Linked DNA regions of Homo sapiens: all the other regions are linked to region 1. The links are contacts of gene promoters, found by promoter capture Hi-C in blood cells and fetal thymus (Javierre and others, 2016). All regions are on one chromosome and are shown on one strand. Each heading gives the region's core, a stretch centred on a gene start or on the middle of the fragment in contact. The rest is flanking DNA. Distances are from core to core; before and after follow the strand shown.

Region 1 (5,566 bases), core at 1,743-4,242:
ACAGCATCTTGGAGAAACAGATCCTAAGCCAGTTAGCAAGAGCCTTCGAAGACTGTCACTGGGTGGAGCAGAGCTGGAGCAAGCCAGAAAGGGACTGAGCAAGGAAATAAGTTGTTTAGCACCACCACATGCCAGGCACTGTATATGCATATACATGTATGTGCATGTACTTAGAAATGTATGTATAGGGGTGACTCACGCCTGTAATCCCAGCACTTTGGGAGGCCGAGATGGATGGATCATTTGAGGTCAGGAGTTGGAGACCAGCCTGGCTAACATGGCGAAGCCCCGCCTCTACTAAAAATACAAAAATTAGCCAGGCGTGGTGGCATGCTCCTGTAATCCCAGCTATTCAGGAGGCTGAGGCTGGAGAATCGCTTGAACCCAGGAGGCGGAGGTTGCAACGAACCAAGATCACGCCACTGCACTCCAGCCTGGGCGACATAGAGAGACTCTGTCTCAAAAAAAAAAAAAAAAAAAAAAAAAAAGAAAAGGAAAGGAAAAGAAATGTATGTATACCTGTGTACAGAGACAGATGTATGTATTTGAGCAATGATCTGTGTCAGGCACTGTGTTTAGCACTTCCCATGCATCCTTTCATTGAATTCTCATAACTAGGCAAAGTAACAGTGTTTTTGCCTCATTTTACAGATGAAGGGACTGAGGCAGGGTGATTAAATCTGAAGCTCAAGGTCACACAGCTAGCAAGGGTTGGGCTGAGACTTATACATTTGAATCTGTTGGCTCTGGATGCCCACCGTGCCAGCCTTGGGTTGAGTCATAGCTGCTCTTCCGTGGGAGCCCCTCCCTGCAGCTGCCCTAGGGTCTAACCAGCAGTACTGTCTCCACAGGAAAGATGAGTCCAAGGAGCCCATCGTGGAGGTTCGAACGGAGGAGGAGAGGACCCCAAACCATGATGGAGGGAAACACACAGAGCCCAACGAGACCACGCCACTGACGGAGCCCGAGTACGTGGGCTGGGAGGGGCTGGCACCTGCTCCGTAGAGACCCCCACACCCACCTCCCCACCCTACCCCCACCTCCCGTGCCCCTACCCACAGCTCCCGGCCAAACAGTTCAGGCCAGGATTCCAAACCCTTGGCCACAAGACCTGCTTGGCTGAGAAATGCCTGACCTCAGGCATTTCTGGTTCTATTTCGGTGGCTGTGGGTACCCTTAGAAGGCTCCTGTATAAGTAGGGATCCCTGGATCCCTAGCCCCTGTTCTCAAGTTATACACATATTCTGGAAATGGCTTAAGGTGGCAAAATCTCACTGAAAGGCTTAGCAGAGTCTGCTTAGGATTTCTTGAAATTCTAGGGTTTTGTGTTTTCCCCCTGAAAGGATAAGGGAAGCTGGGGACCTGGTAAAGTTCTCTGCCCCTCCTCTGTTCAGAAACCTCGGGGACCCACGGAGCCCCAGACCAGTTGTGGTTGTAATGCCTGCCTAGCTGTCAAGGATCTTATGGGCTTAAAGGGAATGGAGTTTCAGGGAACCACAAAATCTGTGACTGGAAGAACCCACAGCTCCTATGAGCCATTCTGAGTACTCGTGATCTGCCTTATTCGTGACTTTTCCCATCGGTGCCCTGGGGAGCCCTGCAGGACAGCTGGGCCCAGTTCCTCTGGGACCTGGGAAGCCTAGAGCAGGTGGATGCTGAACAGAAGCCTGCCCCTCCTTGAATGGAGATCCAGGGCAGGGATCAGGAAGCCCTAGGCAGGTCTGCAAGGACTTCAGGGAAAGGGAGCTCTATGCAGAGAGCTGGAGAGACATCAGCAGGGAAGGGCTAGCAGGTCCCTTTTGAGACCGCCACGTTCTCTGTCGTCTCCTGTGTCCTCTTCTGCCCACCTGGGCGTGTGCTTCCTCTCAGCATCCTTCTCTCTCTGTGGGCCTGTGTCCGTGCCTGTGCCTAACTGCATGCCCCCACCCCCATGGTCCCTGTCCTGGGCTTCAGCCCTCCTCCTCGCTTCTCTGTCACGTCTCAGCTTCATTGTCTATTCTCTTCTACTTCCTGTCCTCCCACAGGCTGCCTGCCGACACTACGGCCACTGTCGAGGACATGCTGCCTTCTGTCACCACCGTCACCACTAACTCTGACACTATCACCGAAACCTTTGCCACTGCTCAGAACAGCCCCACCAGTGAGACCACCACCCTGACCTCCAGTATTGCCCCGCCGGCCACGGCCACGCCTGACTCAAACTCTGTACCGGCTGGCCAGGCCACCCCTTCCAAGGGGCCCAGCGCCTCTGCCCCCTCCCCGGCCCCAGCTTCAGCCCCCAAGGTCGCCCCCCTCGTTGACCTGAGCGACACCCCGACCTCAACCCCTGCCGCTAGCAATTTGTCTTCTAGTGTCCTGGCTAACCAAGGGGCTGTCCTCAGCCCAAGCGCCCCTGCTGGTGTCGGGGAGGCCTCTAAGGCTCCTCCGGCCAGCAAGCCCACCCCTGCACCAGTCCCCACCCCGACTGGGGCAGCCAGTCCTCTAGCAGCAGCGGCTGCCCCTGCCACAGAAGCCCCTCAGGCCAAGCAGGAGGCTCCCAGCACCAAAGGCCCGGACCCGGAGCCCACCCAGCCCGGAGCCGCGAAGAGCCCGGCCGAGGCAGCCACAGCCCTTGCTAGCCCGAAGAGCGAGGCTGCCTCCGTCAGCACCACAAACCCTTCCCAGGGCGAGGACTTTAAAATGGACGAAGGGAACTTCAAGACCCCAGATATTGACCTTGCAAAGGATGTTTTTGCAGCCCTGGGCTCTCCTGCTCCCGCCGCTGGGGCCAGTGGACAAGCCCCTGAGCTTGCTCCTTCCACTGCAGACAGCTCTGTTTCGCCTGCGCCAGCAAAGACCGAGTACGGCCTCTCTTTGTCTGCTGTCATCGGGTTGTGTCCTGTGGTGGTGTGCATTTGTGCTGTGCTGTGTCCTCCTTGTTAGATGTGTCTTCAGCCTCATCCAGGGCTTCTCTGAGGCGACCGTCAACCAAGGGGCTGGGATAAGGCAGAGAGAGCAGGACAGGCAGCTGGGCCCCAGGAGCAGCCGCCTGCTGGCTAATTAGGCCATGTTAATTATGTTTTATCCTTATCATCCTAGCAGCGGCTTCTGTTTTCCCTGGGGGAGCCCTTGCAGTCAGGCCACTGATGAGAATAGCTTGGGAAGCAGGCTAAGAAGGCCAAGGTGCCCTTATCAGCCACCCTGGGGCCCCCAGTCGGTGTGTTATTCAGTGCCAGGCTGAGTCCCTACCAGAAAGGCACTGATGTGCAGGAAGAAAAGAGGTAGGCCCCAGGCCCGTGGCAGGGGAGGGTGCAGTTCAGAGGTCCCCTCACACTGTGGCTCAGATGCTCACCCTCCCCTCCCAACCCCGGCCCCCAGCCCACTCTTGCTTCTCCTGCTCTTAGAGTGGCTGGGAAGACTCGGGGCTCCCCAGCATCAAATGGCTGCTGGGTCTCAAAGTTCAAGAGAAAGGCCTTAACCTTTCAGGTTTGTAAGTGTCTTGCCAAAATTCAGTGGCACCAGCTGAGGCTGGGGTCTGTGCCTGTCCCCATGCATCCTCAGACCCGACTCCCTTTCCTGGAACTGATGGAGGCAGAGTCAGACCTAGATTTTTATAGAGGCTCCTATGGCTGCTCCCCAGATAAGCTGCCATGCTGCCACCATGGGCTGCAAGGGGCTCTCGCCAGGAGCCCTGAATCTCAGCATCGGGAGGGAAAAGGACTCTGATAGCCCTGCCCACTCAGCTGCCCTCAACTCTCGCATAGCCACCAGGCCCACTCTAGTACCCCACCAGGCTGCCATGAAAAGCTGCCTCCATCAGTGTTTTCTCACCCTACCCAGGCAGGCCCTAGAGGCATCATCCTGCAACAGCACAGGGTGGGGTGGGGAAGGGACAGGCAAGAGTGGGTTGCAAAGGGGCCCCTGAAATCAGTGCTGGGAGCCCAGCCCAGCCCAGCAGGCTGCATTTACATCCAGCTGAGCTGTTGCCACTGCAGCTGGTCAGGGTGAGGAGGAGCTGCCTCTGCTGCCCCCTTCCACCACCCCAGGTAAAAACACAGCCTCTGGCATCAACTTAGGGCTGGAAGAGGAAAGGACTCGTTCTTCTGACTCAGTGCTTCTCAACTATGGCTGCACATTAGAGTCACTTGGGTGCTTTTAAAAGTCACTGTGTCCGGACCAATTAAATCAGGATTTCCGCGAACACAGCTCGGGCTTGGGTGATTTTTAGTGCTCCCAGGTGATTTGACGGGCAGAGGTTGGAGCCGGGTGCTGTCACTGGAGAACCCCTCCTCCTCCCTGCTGTCCCCAAGGCCTGGATGCAGGGGCGAGATGTCTGCAGACCGTGGTCTCAGTGGTTCTGTTTTCCTGATTCTCTGCAGGAAGGGCCCCGTAGAAGCAAAGCCAGAGTGCCAGGAGACAGAAACGAAGCCAGCGCCAGCCGAAGTCAAGACGGTCCCCAATGACGCCACACAGACAAAGGAGAACGAGAGCAAAGCATGATGGGTGAAGAGAACCGAGCAAAGATCAAAATAAAAAGTGACACAGCAGCTTCACCAGAGCATTTCCAACACCACAGACACACACACGCACGCACACACACAAACACACATGCACACACACACATCTCATTTCTCTAGTGTCTTTTGCCTTTAAAAAAAACTAAACAGATAAAACATGGGAATCTCCTTTTTGTAGGTTTATAGAAAGGGTCCCTTTGTTGCACACTCACTTGTAAGAAAATGAGACAAAAAGGTTAAACCCACAGCCAAACTAGGACACTCCGTTCCCTGAAACCGTTAAAAAATCAAACAAAAGGACCCCAAATTAAGAATCTAGGAAGCTCAGAAACGAAATCTAGGTTCAGGAAGACCACACTTGGTGTTACCCGATTGGCACAGACCAGTTTCAGAGAAATACTTTCAGGCACTAAGACTAATCGAATGAACAAAGTCCACAGTTTATTTTTATACTTTCAGTCAAGTTTGAACTCTGTAAAACCTCATAAATAAGTTATAATTTCTGTTCACTTTGTATTTGTTCAGTATGCAAAGTGTGTCACCCTTTCTAGCTGAATTCAATTCCCACGTAGACTCTTATTTTATAGGACGAATGCCAAATTGCAGCTTCTGGGGGTAGATCTCAATTTGCAGTATTCAGACTTCTTTTTCTTTCTTTTACATTCTTTTTTCTTTCTTTCTTTCTGCCAACTTTGTTTTCCAGTGTTTACAAGGTGACAAATGTTTGACTTTGGTTGTGTTTAAATGTCCGTGTAAAATAGCTGCCTTTTATTTTTTAAGGTAACAAATACCACCTAGAGGTAGGTAGGATCATCCCACGCTTGCTTTAGCACAGGACAACTTTACAAAACATGATTGTTTACAGCTGCTCTTCCCCTCTTTTCTGATCTGCAGTTTTTGCCTGGGTCCCACTCAGGTGAAAATCCATCTCATTCTGGAATGGTTTTGCTTTTGAATTTTTGGTTATTTTTGTGTTTCTTTGGGGGTTAGACCACTTTCTGATTAGCCGCCACCTGCCTGCATCTGTGAAAAGGGATCTGCTCCCAGGCGTTCTCACCCTTCTTTTGAAG
Region 2 (5,566 bases), core at 1,382-3,881, 1.1 Mb before region 1:
TTTATTATACAACCAGCATTGTTAAGCCACTAAGAGTTTAAAAACATACTATTAGGCTGGGCACGGTGGCTTATGCCTGTAATACCAGCACTTTGGGAGGCCGAGGCGGCTGGATCACTTGAGGTCAGGAGTTCGAGACCAGCCTGGCCAACATGGTGAAACCCTGTTTCTACTAAAAATACAAAAATTAGCCAGGCATGGTGGCATGTGCCTTGTAGTCCCAGCTACTTGGGACACTGAGGCAGAATAACTGATTGAACCCATGAGGCAGAGGTTGCAGTGAGCCGAGTTCGTGCCACTGCACTCCAGCCTGGGTGACACAGCAGGGCTCCATCTCAAACAACAACAACAACAACAAACATACTACTAGATTAAAAGTTAAAATGCCTTGAACTTGAAAAGCAACTATGATTATGTTTATCCTTGCTGTGGAATTCCAATCCTGTTGAATAGGTATGGGATGAAATGAGGGAGCATGCTACATAATTAATTACCTGAGATCAGGTAGGTAGTCATCTTGACAGCAACAAGATCAAAACCTAACTTTTCAGTTCTATAAATCATTTTATCCTTGAACATTCTGCCATCTTATTATGAATGCGTGTATGTGAGTGTTGAAGAGGTGAGAGTAGCAGAAAACTTAAAAAATAAGTTTTTAAGTTTTTGTTTTTGAGTCTGTAGACTCAAAGCAAAAAAATCAAAATGGAACTGATGTAGTTTAAATGGCCTAGTTTGAAAAGGAGAATTGAGTTGAATCTCAAAGAATGCTTAAAGATTTGAATAGATAGAGAAGGCAATGGACCAGCATTTATGTGATAATCAAAACAATGTTGTGGTGGGGGTGAACTGAATAGAGCGATGTTTTTTTCTTTTCTTTTCTTTTTTTTTTTTTTTTTGAGACATGGTCTTGCTCTATCACCCAGGCTGGAGTGCAGTGACACAGCAAACATGGCTCACTGTAGCCTTGACCTCCTGGGCTCAAGTGATCCTCTTGCCTTAGCCTTTTGAGTAGTTGGGACTACAGGCACATACTACCACATCTGGCTAATTTTTGTATGTTTTGGAGAGACAGGGTTTTTGCCATGTTGCCCAGGCTGGTCTTGAACTCCTGAGCTGAAGCAATCCACCTGCCTTGGCCTTCCAAAGTGTTGGGATTACAGGAGTGAGCCACTGCACCCAACCTGTGATTTTTGGATTGTAGTGGAACAGTCCTGCTATTTTGCAGTGAACACAAGGTAAAGTCGGATTAGATTATGGAGGGCTTTGGAAATCAGGTAAAAGAGTAAATTTAATCTCACAGGCAATAGGAAAACATTGCAGATAAAAAGTTATTTTGAAGGAAGTTTGTTTGTTTTTTTGTTTGTTTTTTTGAGAAAGTCTCGCTCTGTTTAGTGGCTGAACTCACCACAGATTTGGCTATCCTGGGCTCAAGCAGTCCTCAGCATCCTGAGTAGTTCTACAGGCATGCACCAACACACCCAGGTAATTTTTTATTTTTTTGTAGAGACTGTGTTGCCCTGGCTGGTCTCAAATTCCTGGGCTCAGGCCTGCCTGAGATTCTAGGCATGAGCTAGTGCACCTGGCCTGAAAGAAGATTTAATAGAACGTAAAGTAGCTGAATATAGGCAAAAAGACGAATTTCAGGAGTCCTAAAATTTAGGGGGTCCTAATTTTTGTTATTCAACTTCAAACAGAGATATTTATTCAGCCCTTTCCTTAATTGTGAAAGAAAATTATCTCGGGGAATGCTATATTATCCAATTGTAGCCCAGTCCAAAGGTGTGGCAGATTTCACAAGATGACTAACCATGGGCAAATTTTTTGTTTGCTTTTAATGTAACTGATTCTGTCTTGAGATTCCGTTTAAAGAGAAGCTTATTTATTTTACCACTCTAAAGCAGCAATTCTCAGGGAGTTCCTAAAGTGAAAGCTATTTCTAATAATTCTAAGACGTAATTTGTCTTTTTCACTCATTCTCTCATGAGTGTACAACAGAGTTTACCAGAGGCTACATTCTGTGCAATATTGCAATAGTCTGAATGCAAAGCAGATGAGAATCCAGCAGATCTATATGGCTTCTATTAAACCAGTTAAAACACTTGTAAAAATAAAAAAGTGTCACTCTTTATGCTTTTTTTTTGTTGTTAAAAAAGTACATAGTTATTTTTAATTAAAAATGTTACTTATGCTAACATGTGATGTGCTTAGTGTAAAGGGAACATGAGAGCAAAAAGTTTGAGAACCTCTCCTCTAAAGTGATACTCTCCCATATCTGATAAAAGAAAAAAATTCTACTCTGACTTTGCTTATATTTCTTATGTTGATACTGACTGCTCATCGTAGTGATGCTAGATGGTTTATATTCCTCTCAATTGCTTTCTAGCTTATTTACCTCTAATTGCCATGGCTGACTTTCCAAATAAAGAGGAATGATATTTCTTACCTGCGACAAATAGTTTGTTGCGAGAGGAAGCGATCTGGAAGGTCTGAGGTTCCTTTCCTCTTCCCGAAGCTGTGTAGACTGCAGCAGGTGGCAGCCGCTTTAGCAGCCAGAGTTGGCAGCCAGGAGGGCAAAATGCACTGGGAGACAATTCCTTGCTGACTGTCCAGGCAGTCGCCAGGGGAGCAAAGGGCTCAGCAAGCTGGGGAGAGAATGAGGAAGAAGGTGGAGGGAGGAGACTGCTGTCGGCACTCCTTGGGCCCGCCTTCAAACAGGCTCTTTCCTAGGGCAATGGAAGTCGAAATAAAGTGGCAGAGGATACGAGTACTTCTTTTAATGTAATATCACTATTTTCATGAAATCTTTTCTTCCGTAAAAGTTGGGGCTCTGTGCCTTCCAAAACCTGTACCTCTTTCTGAGTATCTCTTTCTGACTTTAAGAAAGCACCTCCTTAGTCCATTAGAAGCATCTTCTTTTGTCATCTGTCTCTCTTCATTTTCAGACTTCCTGGTCACACTTCAGCACAAAACTTTTTCTTATTTTACAATGCGGAATAATCAGTCCTATTGGGGTAATTCCTACAATGTTACAACACTTAAAATATTTCTAAAATGTAACATTTTAAAAAAAGGAACATTTTGCAAATATTTTCTTTTACTTTATAACCTCATTCAGGACTTCCCCTTCCTCCCAAGCTCAATATGGTGTCAAAGGATAGTTGATACAGGCCATTAAGATTTACTTTTCAGTGGAACAGGAGTCCATTTTCATAAAACTTCTTTATCTGCTGTATCAGATGCAAGCCACACGGATACCATCATTAGAATTTTATTTAATAATTTTTACACTTTCTGCAACAGAAAGTAAGCTTGGGGAGAGGGATACCAAAATTCAGGTAAGAGGGCAAATATTTACTTGCAGTTTCCAGTGTTAAAACTTTCTATTCCTGGAATGATAGCAAAGACTGACCTAAAATATTTGAAATACAATTTAAGGATACATATATTTAGGGCTTATGTTCAACATGTTAAAAAATAGTCTTATAAAATGTAACGTTTGAAGAGCAGAGTGTAAATATCACAGTCTTGAAAATAATTAGTGGAAACAAAATTTCTTAGCCATTTTTTTCTTGAACATGTGCTAAACTGTATTACTTTGCTAGGAAGGGAATTAGCAAGGTGGCATTTTGTTTTTGTGTTTTGCCAGTACAGAGTTGATATAAAAACAGAGGGGTTCCTAGAGTCAGGGAACAAAATGCTTACATAAACACTACTTTTTGTTGGTTTGTTTGTTTTAAAAACAAGATAGGGTTTTCATTTCGGGAAGTCATAAAAACATCATGTCCTTCAACAGTGATTACAAAGGAAGTCTGTGGCAGGGTGGCTGGAAGTGCTTGGTGTGGTGACTATCAGAAGAAAAAAAATAGTACCTTTAAGAAGTATATGATAAGAATACATACGTGACTCAAGTTGAAATAGTAAGTTTTCACCTTCCAACTGTAGAGTCCAATTGGGCCAATTAACATGAAAGCACGAAGTGGGATCAAGTAGTGATCAGAAGCAGCACACTAAGCAAGCTCTAATTTTAAATATTCCATTGCCAGTGAATTTTCTCCAGCTGTAAAGATGCAGAATGTGTAATTTACACATTTTGAAGTTTTGGGACAAACACTTTTTTCTTTGATATAGAGCAACAAATGTCTCAGTGTCCTTTGTACTTCATAGAGTTGTTTTCAAAGATTAAATGAGATAATGATGACAGCCCTTTGAATATTTTAAAGCTCTAGATAACAATATCATCTCACTTATTCCTACCCATTTAGCTTATGCAATGGAAGTTAATATTTAAAAAATAAAAGAAAATAAAATGTCCATGGTGTTCTCTTAATCTGATGAAAGCATTTATGCATTAGGTGGAATCATTTTTCTTGGAAATATTTTAAGAATCAGATGGACAACCACCTGTTTAAATATCATACAGTGTGAAGGCTGTGAGATGAATTCCATGAGTATTTCCCAGACCCTTGGGTTTAATGAACCATTAAAAATAATAACAGCAACCATGATAATAAGGAGGAGGAGATAAACACAGTGGACAACTCTACATTTTACCAAGGAAGGACACTAAAAATGTAAGAATTTTTAATCTTTTTATTTCATAAAACTTATCTCACCTGTGCCCCCCAAATTAGGAAGGACATGGTATCAGAATAAAGCACAGTCACTTTAAAGTGAATATATTTGACTTGATGAAAACTTTATACTGCTGAAGAGTCTGAAACAATAAAGATAAAAATTAAGGCAAACTAAAACTTCATTCCTTTTCCCTTCATTTTACCACAGAGGGTAAAAATTCAACACAGATTGCTATTGTTCTGGGACAGTGTTTGAGACTCCTTACTTCGCCATAGTTATCTAGGCTAGTATTATGTGGCCTATATTTCACAATATTAGCAACTCAGATTAAACACATTGAGCGCTTATTTTCTAGGAACTTATTTAAAACAACCGGCTTCTTCACAAACAGCAAATAAATATACACACACAGAATACTTCCAAGACTTAATGATAACTAACATTTAATCAAGCAAAAGGAAAAAAAAAACCTTAGTAATGTATGTAAATGTTAAATATAGTTCTCTAAGATGTAAGATTTTGTACCTGGAGCTTATGGATGTGTGTTATTGACCTTTGTGTTATGAGGTAATTTGCTTTTTTTTTTCTTCCACATCCACTAACTGGGCGTAAGCTTGGAATGTATATCTTTGAAATTGCAGGTCAAAGCCTCCGCATTAAAGCACCCGATGAGGCAAAGCTACAATTATGTGAGCCATGTGTGTTATGCAACACTTTTTGATAGCTGTTGCCAATTAGACTTAACTTATTGACACACCCGGGGAAGAATTTTCTAAGAAGGCGTGATTCTGAACGTTTGGTTGCACCAAAGAGGAAGAGGGGGCAGTAACTGAGGCTCTGGATCTAAAAGCCTTGCTTGTGGGCCAGGGGAACACGTGATTAAAGCCTTCCTGCAAACAGAGCATCTGCAAACGCAGTTTTAAACCCTTCCTGCAAACAAACCAAGTAAATTTTACTCGAAAAGAGGCCGTGGATGTGCTATTTTGTGTTC
Region 3 (5,566 bases), core at 1,358-3,857, 1.1 Mb before region 1:
CCTCCCAAAGTCTTGGGATTACAGGCATGAGACACCATGCCTGACCTAGGAATTACGTGTTTCTCTTGTCTCCTTGTGGCAAATAATGAGAGAGAGTAGTTTTAAAGCATTGAAGACACAGCTTCATCATTTATTTAATATTAAAAATAATTTGAAATAGCTTATTTAATACCTAATAAGTAAGAAACATGGCAAAGAGAGCCAAGATATGTGTTTAAAAGCATATGTGGCTGGGCACGGTGGCTCACGCTTGTAATCCCAGCAGTTTGGGAGGCTGAGGCAGGCAGATCACTTGAGCTCAGGAATTTGAGACCAGCCTGGACAACCAAAATGGTGAAACCTCGTCTCTAGTAAAAATGCAAAAATTAGCCAGATGTGGTGGTGGGTGCCTGTAATCCCAGCTACTTGGGAGCCTCAGGCAGGAGTATCACTTGAACCCAGGAGGTGGAGGTTGCAGTGAACCAAGATCGCACCACTGCACCCCAGCCTGTGCAACACAGTAAGACTCCATCTCCAAAAAAAAAAAAAAAAAGCATATGTGATAGTTCCTTATTTCCTTATTACACTTAAGCACCAAAGTTTGCTAGAAGGAATAGCAAAGTAGACCGTCAATCAGTCCACCTAGTTGAAGGGATTCACTTTTTCCTGATGCTGAATCCAAGGTAAAGTTTTTCCTTGAATTATGTAATATACATTGTTTCTAGCTGTAGCTTTATTTTTTAGCTATAATTGTCTTTTTAAATGTTTGTAAAATAGTACTTATTAAGTTTACTTATGCCTTACTAAGCTTACTTATAGCTTTATGGTGGGTCTTGACATCTGTGGTTGTTTATCTCTTTTCTGTTTTAAGATTGCCTGGGTTTTTCATGGCCTTTTGCATGTCTATAAATTTTAGAATCCATTTATCAGGTTTTGTTTTTGTTCTTGTTTTAAAAATAAAATTCATTGTATATATTTGAGGTTTACAACATGATGTTATGGGATACATGTAAATATTAAAATGGTTAGTATAGTGAGGCAGATTAACATATCTATCATCTCACATGTTACTTTTTTGTGTGACAAGAGCAGTTAAAATCTACTTGTTTAACAAAAATCTCTGATAGAATACAATCTTATTAACTTTATTTCTTACGTTTGTACGTTAGACCTCTAGACTTGTTCATACTACATATCTACTGTTTGGTATCCTTTGAGCTACATCTTGTCTTTGCCTTCCCCTCCCCTCTGGTGGTAACCACTGTTTCATTGTCTTTCTCTGTGTATTTGAGATTTTCTTTAAAAAATTCCACATAAAAATGAGATCATGCAATTTTTTTTTCTTTTCTTTTTTTTTTGAGACGGAGTCTCACTCTGCCACTCAGGCTGGAGTGCAGTGGCGCGATCTCGGCTTACTGCAACCTCTGCTCCCGGGTTCAAGTGATTCTCCTACCTCAGCCTCCCGAGTAGCTGGGACTACAGGCACATACCAACATGTCTGGCTAATTTTTGTATTTTTAGTAGAGACCAGGTTTCACCATGTTGGCCAGGCTGGTCTCTAACTCTTGACTTCAGGTGATCTGCCTGCGTTGGCCTCCCAAAGTGCTGGGATTACAGGCGTGAGCCACAGCGCCCTGCCTCATAGAATATTTTTCTTTCTGTGTCTGGATGTTTCACTTAACATAATGTCTTCCAGGTCCATCCATGTTGTAGCAGACGTCAGGATCTCCTTTTCTAAGATTGAGTAATACTCCATTGTGTGTATATATCACATTTTCTTTATCCATTCATCTGTCAATGGGTATTTAGGTTGTTTCTGTTTCTTGACTGTTATGAATAATGCTACAATGAACGTAAGAATGCAGCTATTTTCATGAGGTGGTGATTTCATCTCATTTGAGTATATACCCAGGAGAGGGATTGCTGGGTCATATGTTGTACAGTTGACCCTGAACAACATGGATTCGAACTGCATGGGTCCTTATATGCAAATTTTCTTCTACCTCTCCACCCCTGAGATAGCAAGACCAACCCCTCTTCTTCCTCCCCCTCAGACTACTCAATGTGAAGACAATGAGAATGAAGACCTTTATGATGATCTACTACCACTTAATGAATAGTAAATATATTTGCTCTTCCTTATGACTTTTAGTAGCATTTTATTTTATTTTTTTTGAGACAGAGTTTTGCTCTTGTTGCCCAGACTGGAGTGCAATGGCGTGATCTCGTCTCACTGCAACCTCCGCCTCCTCAGTTCAAGCAATTCTCCAGCCTCAGCCTCCCGAGTAGCTGGGATTACAGGCATCTGCCACCATGCCCGTTGTATTTTTAGTAGAGATGGGGTTTTGTCATATTGGCCAGGCTGCTCTCGAACTCCTGACCTCAGATGATCTGCCCACCTTGGCCTCCCAAAGTTCTGGGATTACAGGCTTGAGCCACCACACCCAGCCTTTAATAACATTTTCTTATTTTCTTTTATCTGGTTTGCTTTATTGTAATAATACAGTATATAATACATATGAAATACAAAATATGTGTTAATTAACTGTATGTTATTGGTAAGGCTTCCAGTCAACAATAGTTTATTAGTAGTTAAATTTTTGAGTAGTCAAAAGTTATGTGTGGATTTTCGACTATGTAGGGGGTTGGCACCTCTACCCCACTCCGTGTTGTTCAAGGGTCATCTGTATTTTTTATTTCTTTAGGAACTCCTATACTGTTTTTCATAATGGCTGTACCAATTTATATTCCCACCAACAATGTACTAGAGTTCCCTTTCTTCTACACCCTTGCCAACATTTGTTATCTCTTGTCTTTTTGATAATAGCCATCCTTATGAGTGTGAGGTTTTATATAGTGGTTTTAATTTGTATTTCCCTTATGGTTAGTGATGTTGAGCACCTTTTTATATGCCTATTGGACTTTCAAATTTTATTTTATTTTTTATTTTATTCTTTTAGGGACAGGATCTCACTCTGTTGCCCAGGCTGGGTGCAGTGGCATGATCATAGCTCACTGAAGCCTCAAACTCCTGGGAACACGTGATCCTCCTGCCTCAGCCTCCCAAGTAGCTGGGTCTACAGGTGCGTGGCACCACACTCAGCTAATATTTTAAAAACTTTTTTGTAGAGACAGGGTCTTATTATGTTGCCAAGGCTGCTGTCAAACTCCTGGGCATGCATGATCCTCCTGCCTCAGCCTCACAAGTAGCTGGGATTACAGGTGCATGGCACCACACTCAGCTAATATTTTTAAAACTTTTTTGTAGAGACAGGGGCCTTGTTATGTTGCCAAGGCTTTTCTCAAACTTCTGGGCTCAAGTGATCCTCCTGCCTCAGCCTCCCAAAGTGCTGGGATTACAAGTGTGAGCTACCACACCTGGCCTCTATTTTTGGAGAAATGACTGTTCAGGTCCATTGCCCATTTTTTATTTATTTTTAATTAATTAATTAATTAATTTATTTTTAACTTTTAATTAAAAAGTAAACTTTAATATTGAAAATGCAAACTTGGGGAAGACAGAAAAGATCACACACAAGGCTGTCACTTCACACTTGGAAGGTTGCGCAGCGGCCAGGCAGAGGCGCTCCTCACATCCTAGACGGGCGGCAGCTGGGCAGAGGTCCTCCTCACTTCCCAGACAGGGCGGGGGCCGGGCAGAGGCGCTCCTCACATCCCAGACAATGTGGGGGCCAGGCAGAGGCGCTCCTCACTTCCCAGACAGGGCAGCGGCCGGGCAGAGGCGCTCCTCACTTGCCAGAGGGTGGGCGGCTGGGCAGAGGCACTCCTGGGGCGGCAGGGGCGGCAGCTGGGCAGAGGTGTTCCTCAGTTCCCAGACGGTGGGCGGCCGGGCAGAGGCGCTCCTCACTTCCCAGACGGGGCGGCGGCCGGCTTTTCCCATTTTTTAATTGGGTTATTTGTTTTTCTGGTATTGAGTTGTAAGAGTTCTTTATAAATTTTGAGGCCAGGTGTGGTGGCTCACGCCTGTAATCCCAGCACTTTGGGAGGCCAAGGTGGGAGGATTGCTTGAGCCCAGCAGTTCAAGATCAGCCTGGGCAAGATGGCAAGACCTCATCTCTACAAAAAAATTTAAAAATATACAAATTTTGAGTATAATTCCTTATTGGATATGTGGTTGCAATTTTTTTCCCCAGCCCATAGGTCGCCTTTTCGTTTTGTTGATTGTTTCCTTTGCTGTGCAGAAACTTTTAAATTTGATGTCAACTTGTCAGTTTTTGCAAGGAAAAAACCTGATACAATATTGCAACTGTAGATCAATTTGGAGACAATTGACATCTTTACAATATTGAGTCTTCCAATCCATGAACATGGAATATCCCTCCATTTATTTGGGTCTTTTAAAATTTCTCTCAGTAAAGTTATAGTTTTCAGTATAAAGATACTACATTTCTTTTTGTGTGTTTTGAAATTATTGTAAATGGTATCTTTTAAGCTTTCATTTTCTGTTTGTTGCTCTTTATAGAAATGCAATTGATTTTGTATATTATCTTCATATCCAGAGATCTTGCTAAATTCACTTATTAGTTCAAATAGTTGATCCACAGATTATTTTGGATTTTCTATGTGCACAGTCATGTTACCTGAAAATAATGACAGCTTTCTTTCTAATACTTAGGGCTTTATTTCTTTTTCTCGCCTTACTGTACCAGCTAGGACTTCGAGTTGAATAGAAGTGCAAGATAGTGAATAGAAGTTGAATAGGTAGTGTTGAAAAATGTTTAATAATTCATTATTAAATATAAAATTGCTATAGGTATTTTTCTAGCTATCTTTATCAGATTATCCTAATAGTGCCTTTTAATGAATAAACATTCTTAACTTAATATGGCCCAGTATACAGTCTCTTCCTTTATGACTTATACGTTGTACATCTTGTTTTAGACATCTTCTCATGGCAAGGTAATGAAAATATTATCCTATGTTATCTTCTAGAGAAGTCAAGTATCTGTATATGCATTATTCTGTTTCTGGACTGTATATTCTGTTCCATTGTTTCTACTTATGGTTACTTGTGCACTGCATTAAAAAAGTCTTAAGGTTTAGTGTCAAGTTATCCTAATATTTTTCTTTTGAAAAGAGTGTCATGGCCATCCCTGGCCCTTCACGTTTTTGTAGAAATTTTAGAATCAGCTGTCAGTTCCCCACACAAAAATATGGTCACATTTTAATTCTATTTGCACTGAACCAATGTATCAATTTGAGAGAGGACTAACCTCTTTACACAATGTTGAGTCTTCCAGTACGTGAACACAATATATCTTTCCATTTATTTGAGACTTCTTTAATTTCTTTCAATGTTTATAGTTTTCTGGTTACATATTTTCTGCATCTTTTGTTAGATTTATTCCTAGGTTTTTTTTTTACATTATTTTAAATGTTGTTTATTTTTTGCTTTCATTTTATGTTAGTGTTGCTATATAGCAATTTTTTTTTTTTGAGACAGTGTGACGGTCTCACTCTGTCACCAAGGCTGGAGTGCAGTGGTGTGATCTCAGCTCACTGCAACCTCTGCCTCCTGAGTTCGAGCAATACTCCCACCTCAGCTTCCTGAGTAGCTGGGACTACA
Region 4 (5,566 bases), core at 363-2,862, 1.0 Mb before region 1:
AAGCTGGAATGCTGGTTCATATCTTACCTTCACCATTTAAGTAGCTCCGGGACCTGAGCAAGAGTCACTTAGCATCTCTGTCTCTGTTTCTCATCTACAAAATGGGAATGATAATGATATCTCCCTAATAGGTCACTATTACATGTTAAACACCATAGGAAGTGTTATTATTATGAAATGAATTAGAAAGCATATTCCTTGACTTTTAGGTTTGGCTGATTCAAAAAGGGCTATATAAAAAATATCTACTGGACACCTCTAAGAAAAGCATTGGATTAAGAATGAACAGACTAAGATTCAAGAGCCAGTTCTATGACTTACTAGAAGGGAGACTCTGGGCAGGTCATTTAATTTCCCTTGGTCTCAGGCTTTTCATACATAAAGTGGGTTAGTAATACTTCCCCTGTGTTGTTTATTAGATTTTTTTCACCCACGGACTAAATGCAGTACACAATTATCCCCAGAGGCATCATATTGTCAAATAGATATGAAAAGATTACACACTGGAGGCTGGGTACAGTGGCTCACACCTGTAATTCCAGCACTTTGGGTGACTGAGGTGGGTGGATCACTTGAAGCCAGGAGTTCGAGACCAGCCTGGTCAACATGGAGAAGCCCCATCTCTACTAAAATACAAAAAATTAGCCAGGCGTGGTGGTGTGCACCTGTAATCCCAGCTACTTGGGAGGCTGAGGTACAAGAATTGCTTGAACCCAGGAGGCGGAGGTTGCAGTGAGCTGAAATTGTACCATTACACTCCAGCCTGGGTGACAAAGTGAGACTCTGTCTCCAGAAAAACAAAAACAAAAAGAGAAAAGATTATACACTGGAATGCAATGATTATCCCTTAAAATGATAAAACTGCCCATTTTATTTAAGTCAGAGAATCTACCCCAAGTGTGCTCTTGCTGGGACTCAGTGAATCTGGGGTTGGGGCTTTCTCGCTCCTGTGGCTTGAGTTCACAAGGAATTTGCAGAAATAGCCCCCCAGCCCACTCCCTTAATTCTCATTCTTTGTCTTCCTTCCCTTGCTTCCCATTTGGTTCAGAAGACACATGTTTTGTATAATTGAGAGTAGCGATAGAGGGGTGTGTTCTGAAATTCTGGTTAATTTCCCTCAGGGAACAAAGGACAGCAGAGAGCATGGCTTCTACTCACCAGAATAGACTGCATTGCTTTCGTAGATATGTGAACTGGCCTTGATGTCTAGGGTTATGGTGTAGTATTCATCAAAGGTGAAGCAGGTGCTACTGTACCTTATAAAGGTGGCAGAAGAAAGCTGCAGACTGAGGCACAGAAACATCCCCAGTGGCTGCAGCAGCATGTCATGGAAGACTGCCATGGTCTCAGTCTGTTTGGAAAGTGCTAGGCCTGGAATTGGGTGAAACTGACAACTCACCTCTTGTTTATATGCCAGGGCTTCTGGGTGAAGTCATACATGCAGATCTTCTCCCTGCCCCTTCTGAATATACATTGGATTCTGGAATTTGGCCCAAGACATCACCAGGAATGAATCACCAGTCACCATTACCTGTCACCGATGATTTTGCAAATTGCAGTTTTGCTCAAGAAAGGGAATGTCCTGAATATGGTTTTCTTTTACGCCTGTCATTTCAGCATCTGCTGTTTGAAGAAAGCCATTGAGAAGATGTGAATACCAGCAAGTGAAATTCAGAGTTGTGTAAAATGTAAAATAAACCCCTGAGGAATGAGATGTCTATAGGGGGTTTGAAAAGCTTGGACGAATCCCTGGGAATCTAAAAAGCCATGTGCATGTGCAGGGCTACACACATTCCCAGGAAAGACCTGAGGAGGCCCTAATTACTCACCTCTGGCCGACCTTGAGGCTCTGCACAAGTAAGAAGTAAAGGCTAAGGTAGAGCTGTAAACTGCCTATCTGATCACTGAAGGCATTCCCCAAAACACACATGCAGAAGTGCTTAGCAAAGACTGGGAGACTTGTTGGTTCCAGAGTTATTAGTTAAAGAAATTTTTTAAAAATCTATTTATTAGCTGGTCAATAAGCAAACAGAACAGAGACTTTGGTGGTTACACATGATAAAGAATACAGACTTCACATAATTAATTTAGGAAAGTCATAAAACAAACAGCAGCAACAACAACAATAAAAAAGAATAACAAACAGCAACAAAAACAAACTCAGGGAGGAGAAGGGAGTCTGGTGTCCAAAGTTGTCACATTTGTGTGTGTGTGTGTGTGTGTGTGTGTGTGTGTATGTATGTATTTATTTATTTTTTTGAGACACAGTCTCACTATTGCCCAGGCTGGAGTGAAGTGGTGCAATCATAGCTCACTGCAGCCTCAAATTCTTGGGCTTAAGTGATCCTCCTGCTGCAGCTTCCCAAGTAGCTGGGGCTATAGGCACGTGTCATCACACCTGGTTAATTTTTATAGTTTTTGTAGAGTCTTGCTATGTTGTCCAGACTGTTATTGAACTCCTGGGCATAAGCAATCCTCCTGCCTCAGCCTCCCAAAGTGCTGGGATTATGGGCATAAGTCACTTTGCTTGGCTTCATGTTTTTTAAATGTTCAGTTTTCAAGAAAAATTATAAGATATACAAATAAACAAGAAAGTATGGCTTATACAGAAGAAAAAAACATCCCAGGTAAACAGAAACTGTCCCTGAGGAAGCCCACACGCTGAACTTGACATAGACGTTAACTCAGCTTTATAAATACGTTCAAAGAACTAGAAAAAATCATGTCTAAAGAATTAAAGGAAAGTATGAGATTGATTTTGGTGATTGTCTCACCAAGTAAAGAATAGTAATAAAGAGATTAAAATGATAAAAAGAGCCAAATAGAAATTCTGCAATGGAAAAGTACAATAACTACGATTTTAAAAAGTCACCAGAAGAACTCAACAGCATATTTGAACTGGTAGAAGAAAGTATTGGTGAACTTGAAGATGGGTCAATTGAATACATTTAACAAAACAAGTGCAAGACTTGTATACGGAAAACTATAACAATACACTCAGGATAGTCAAAATGATCTTGAAAACAAACAAACAAAACTCACAAAGTTTGAGGACTCACACTTCCCAATTTTAAAATTTACTGTGTAGCTACAGTAATCAAGACAGTGTGGTACTGACATAAGGATAGACATATACATCAATGAAATAGAATTGAGATTTCAGAAACATACCCACACATTTATTATTAACTGGGTTTTGACAAGGGTAACAAGACAACTCAATGGGGAAATAAATGGTGCTGGGTCAACTGAATATGCACATGCAAAAGAATAAAGTTGGAGCCCTACTCGTACCATATACAAAATTAACTCAAGGTGAACCAAGGGCCTACATGTAAAACTATAAAACTCTTAGGAAAAAACATAGGTATAAATCTTCATAACCTTGGTTTAAGCAACAGTTATTAGACATGATGCCTGAGGCAAAAATAAGTAAAGGAAAAATAGATAAATTGGACTTCAAAACTAAAAGCTTTTGTTCTTTGAAGGCCACTATCAAGAAAGTGAAAAGGGCTGGGCACGGTGACTTACGCCTGTAATCCCAGCACTTTGGGAGGCCAAGGAGGGTGGATCACCTGAGGTCAGGAGTTCGAGACCAGCCTGGCCAACATGATGAAACCTCGTCTCTACTAAAAATACAAAAATTAGCCAGGCGTGGTGGTGTGTGCCTGTAATCCCAGCTACTCAGGAGGCTGAGGCAGGAGAATTGCTTGAACCCGGGAGGCAGAGGTTACGGTGAACCAAGATTGCACCACTTTACTCCAGCCTGGGCAACAGAGTGAGACTCCATCTAAAAAAAAAAAAAAAGTGAAAAGATAATCTACATCATATATCTGAAAAGGGCCTAGTTTCTAGAATATATAAAGATTACAACTCAATAACAAAAAGACAAATATCCCAATTTAAAAATGAGCAAAGATTTGAATACTTTCTCCAAAGAAATGTACAAATGGCCAATAGACATGTGAAAAGATGCTCGACATTATTAGTTATTAGGAAAATGCAAATCAAAACTTGAATGAGATACCTCTTTACAGCTAGAATTACTACTGTCAAAATGACAGGTAATAATAAGAGTTGGCATGGATATGGAGAAGTTGAACCCTCATTCATTTCTGGTGGAAATATAAAATGAGGTAGCCACTTTGGAAAACGGTTTGGCATTTCCTCAGAAAGCTAAACATAGAGTTACTACTATATGGTCCAGGAACTCCACTCATAGGTATATACCCAGGAGAATTAAAAATGTATGTCCACACAAAAACTTGTACATGAATGTTTATAGGAGCATTATTCATAATAGCTAAAAAGTGGGAACAATCCAAGTGTCCATCAACTTATGAATGGATAAACAAAATGTGGTATGTTCTTACAATGGACTATTGTTTAGCTATAAAAATAAATCAAGTACCGATACATGCGACAACATGGATGAACCTTGAAATGACTGTGCTCAGTGAAAAAAGCCAGACACAAAAGACCACATATTGTATGCTTTCATTTCTATGAAATGAAATGAAATATCCAGAAGAAGCAAATCCACAGAGACAGAAATATGAAAATCCACAGAGACAGAAATGTGAAATATTGAAAAAATGAAATATCCAGAAGAAGCGAATCCACAGAGACAGAAAGTGATTGCCAGGGACTAGGGATGGTGCGGGGAATGGGAAATGACTATGACTGCTCATTGATTTGGGGTTTCTTTTGGAGATGATGGAAATGTTCTGGAAGTAGATAGTGGTGATGGTTTCACAACCTTGTGAATATACTAAAAACTACCAAATTGAATTTGATGGTATGTGAATTATATCTCAATAAAATTTTTATTTACATAATATGCTGTGTAGGCAAGTTGGGGTAGCAGAAAGAATGTGACAGAACTTTAGTATTGGGTCCTGTTCAGAGTCCTTGCTTTGGGAGAGTTTTTAAACTATCTGAGCTTTAGTCTCCACTTCTAAAATTAAGGCAGTAATATCAGTCTTACATACTTTTATGTATATTAAATGAAAAGTGTATGTAAGCTGTTTTGAACTGGGTCTGGTGGTGTGCCCCTATAGTCTCAGCTACTTGAGAGGCTGGGATAGGAGAATTACTTGAGCTTAGGAGTTTGAGTCTAGCCTGAGCAACATATTGAGACCCCCATCTCAAAAAAGAAAACAAAACAAACCCCAAAACCATTTTAGGGAACAGGGTGGGCCTGACATATAGTATAAATTTTTAACAAATGTTAATTAGTTTCCTACCTTCCTTCCTTTCTTCTTCCCTTTCCTAAATTTATACAGATTAGGATGGTAGAAAAGAAAATACAGGAGTTCTGCTATTGATATGGGGATGATGGTCTAATCTCCTTATGAACTGGGGGACATGGGATTGGGGGGATGGGAAACGACTCAGAAGGGAACACTCTGATTTATGTGGAATTGTTCCATGCATTTTCTGCAAGATAGAGCTCAGCCCAAGAGAGGGCCTGTGTGAGGACCCTGGCATGTCCTCTAGGGAGGGGGGCGTGTCTACTGGCCTATAGCCCTACTGGCTATGGGGACAGCTGTTCATAAAACAAAAT

What was found. Contacts are between HindIII fragments. The CHiCAGO score rates a contact against its expected background, and 5 or more counts as called.
Region 2: a contact is called between the fragment with the promoter of IL18 here and the fragment with the promoter of NCAM1-AS1 in region 1, in 3 of 17 cell types (total CD4 T cells, non-activated CD4 T cells and total B cells). The highest score is 7.2, in total CD4 T cells.
Region 3: a fragment that was not itself captured here is called in contact with the fragment with the promoter of NCAM1-AS1 in region 1 in 6 of 17 cell types (total CD4 T cells, naive CD4 T cells, naive CD8 T cells and 3 more); the score reaches 7.4 in total CD4 T cells.
Region 4: the fragment with the promoter of PLET1 here is called in contact with the fragment with the promoter of NCAM1-AS1 in region 1 in 7 of 17 cell types (naive CD8 T cells, total CD8 T cells, non-activated CD4 T cells and 4 more); the score reaches 7.7 in naive CD8 T cells.

Annotation. Positions count from the first base shown.
Region 1 is chr11:113,270,909-113,276,474 of GRCh38, forward strand. It overlaps NCAM1-AS1 (NCAM1 antisense RNA 1), which reads right to left and starts at 2,993. Exons shown (of 3, transcript NR_034101.1): 1 at 2,716-2,993. It overlaps NCAM1 (neural cell adhesion molecule 1), which reads left to right. Exons shown (of 20, transcript NM_181351.5): 19 at 852-968; 20 at 4,359-5,566. The coding sequence ends at 4,479. The HindIII fragment of the contact is 7,964 bases long and covers 1-5,566 here.
Region 2 is chr11:112,161,463-112,167,028 of GRCh38, forward strand. IL18 (interleukin 18) reads right to left here and starts at 2,632. Exons shown (of 6, transcript NM_001562.4): 1 at 2,444-2,632. TEX12-AS1 (TEX12 antisense RNA 1) reads right to left here. Exons shown (of 3, transcript XR_001748384.2): 2 at 4,614-4,714; 3 at 3,900-4,057. The HindIII fragment of the contact is 1,434 bases long and covers 1,873-3,306 here.
Region 3 is chr11:112,202,536-112,208,101 of GRCh38, forward strand. The region is part of intron 8 of BCO2 (beta-carotene oxygenase 2); the gene reads left to right. Among named protein-coding and RNA genes, the nearest start is that of PTS, 21 kb to the right of the region's middle. The HindIII fragment of the contact is 3,645 bases long and covers 786-4,430 here.
Region 4 is chr11:112,259,248-112,264,813 of GRCh38, forward strand. PLET1 (placenta expressed transcript 1) reads right to left here and starts at 1,613. Exons shown (of 4, transcript NM_001145024.1): 1 at 1,159-1,613. The coding sequence starts at 1,342. It overlaps LOC100132686 (a long non-coding RNA gene), which reads left to right and starts at 1,018. Exons shown (of 1, transcript NR_133566.1): 1 at 1,018-2,149. The HindIII fragment of the contact is 13,385 bases long and covers 1-1,734 here.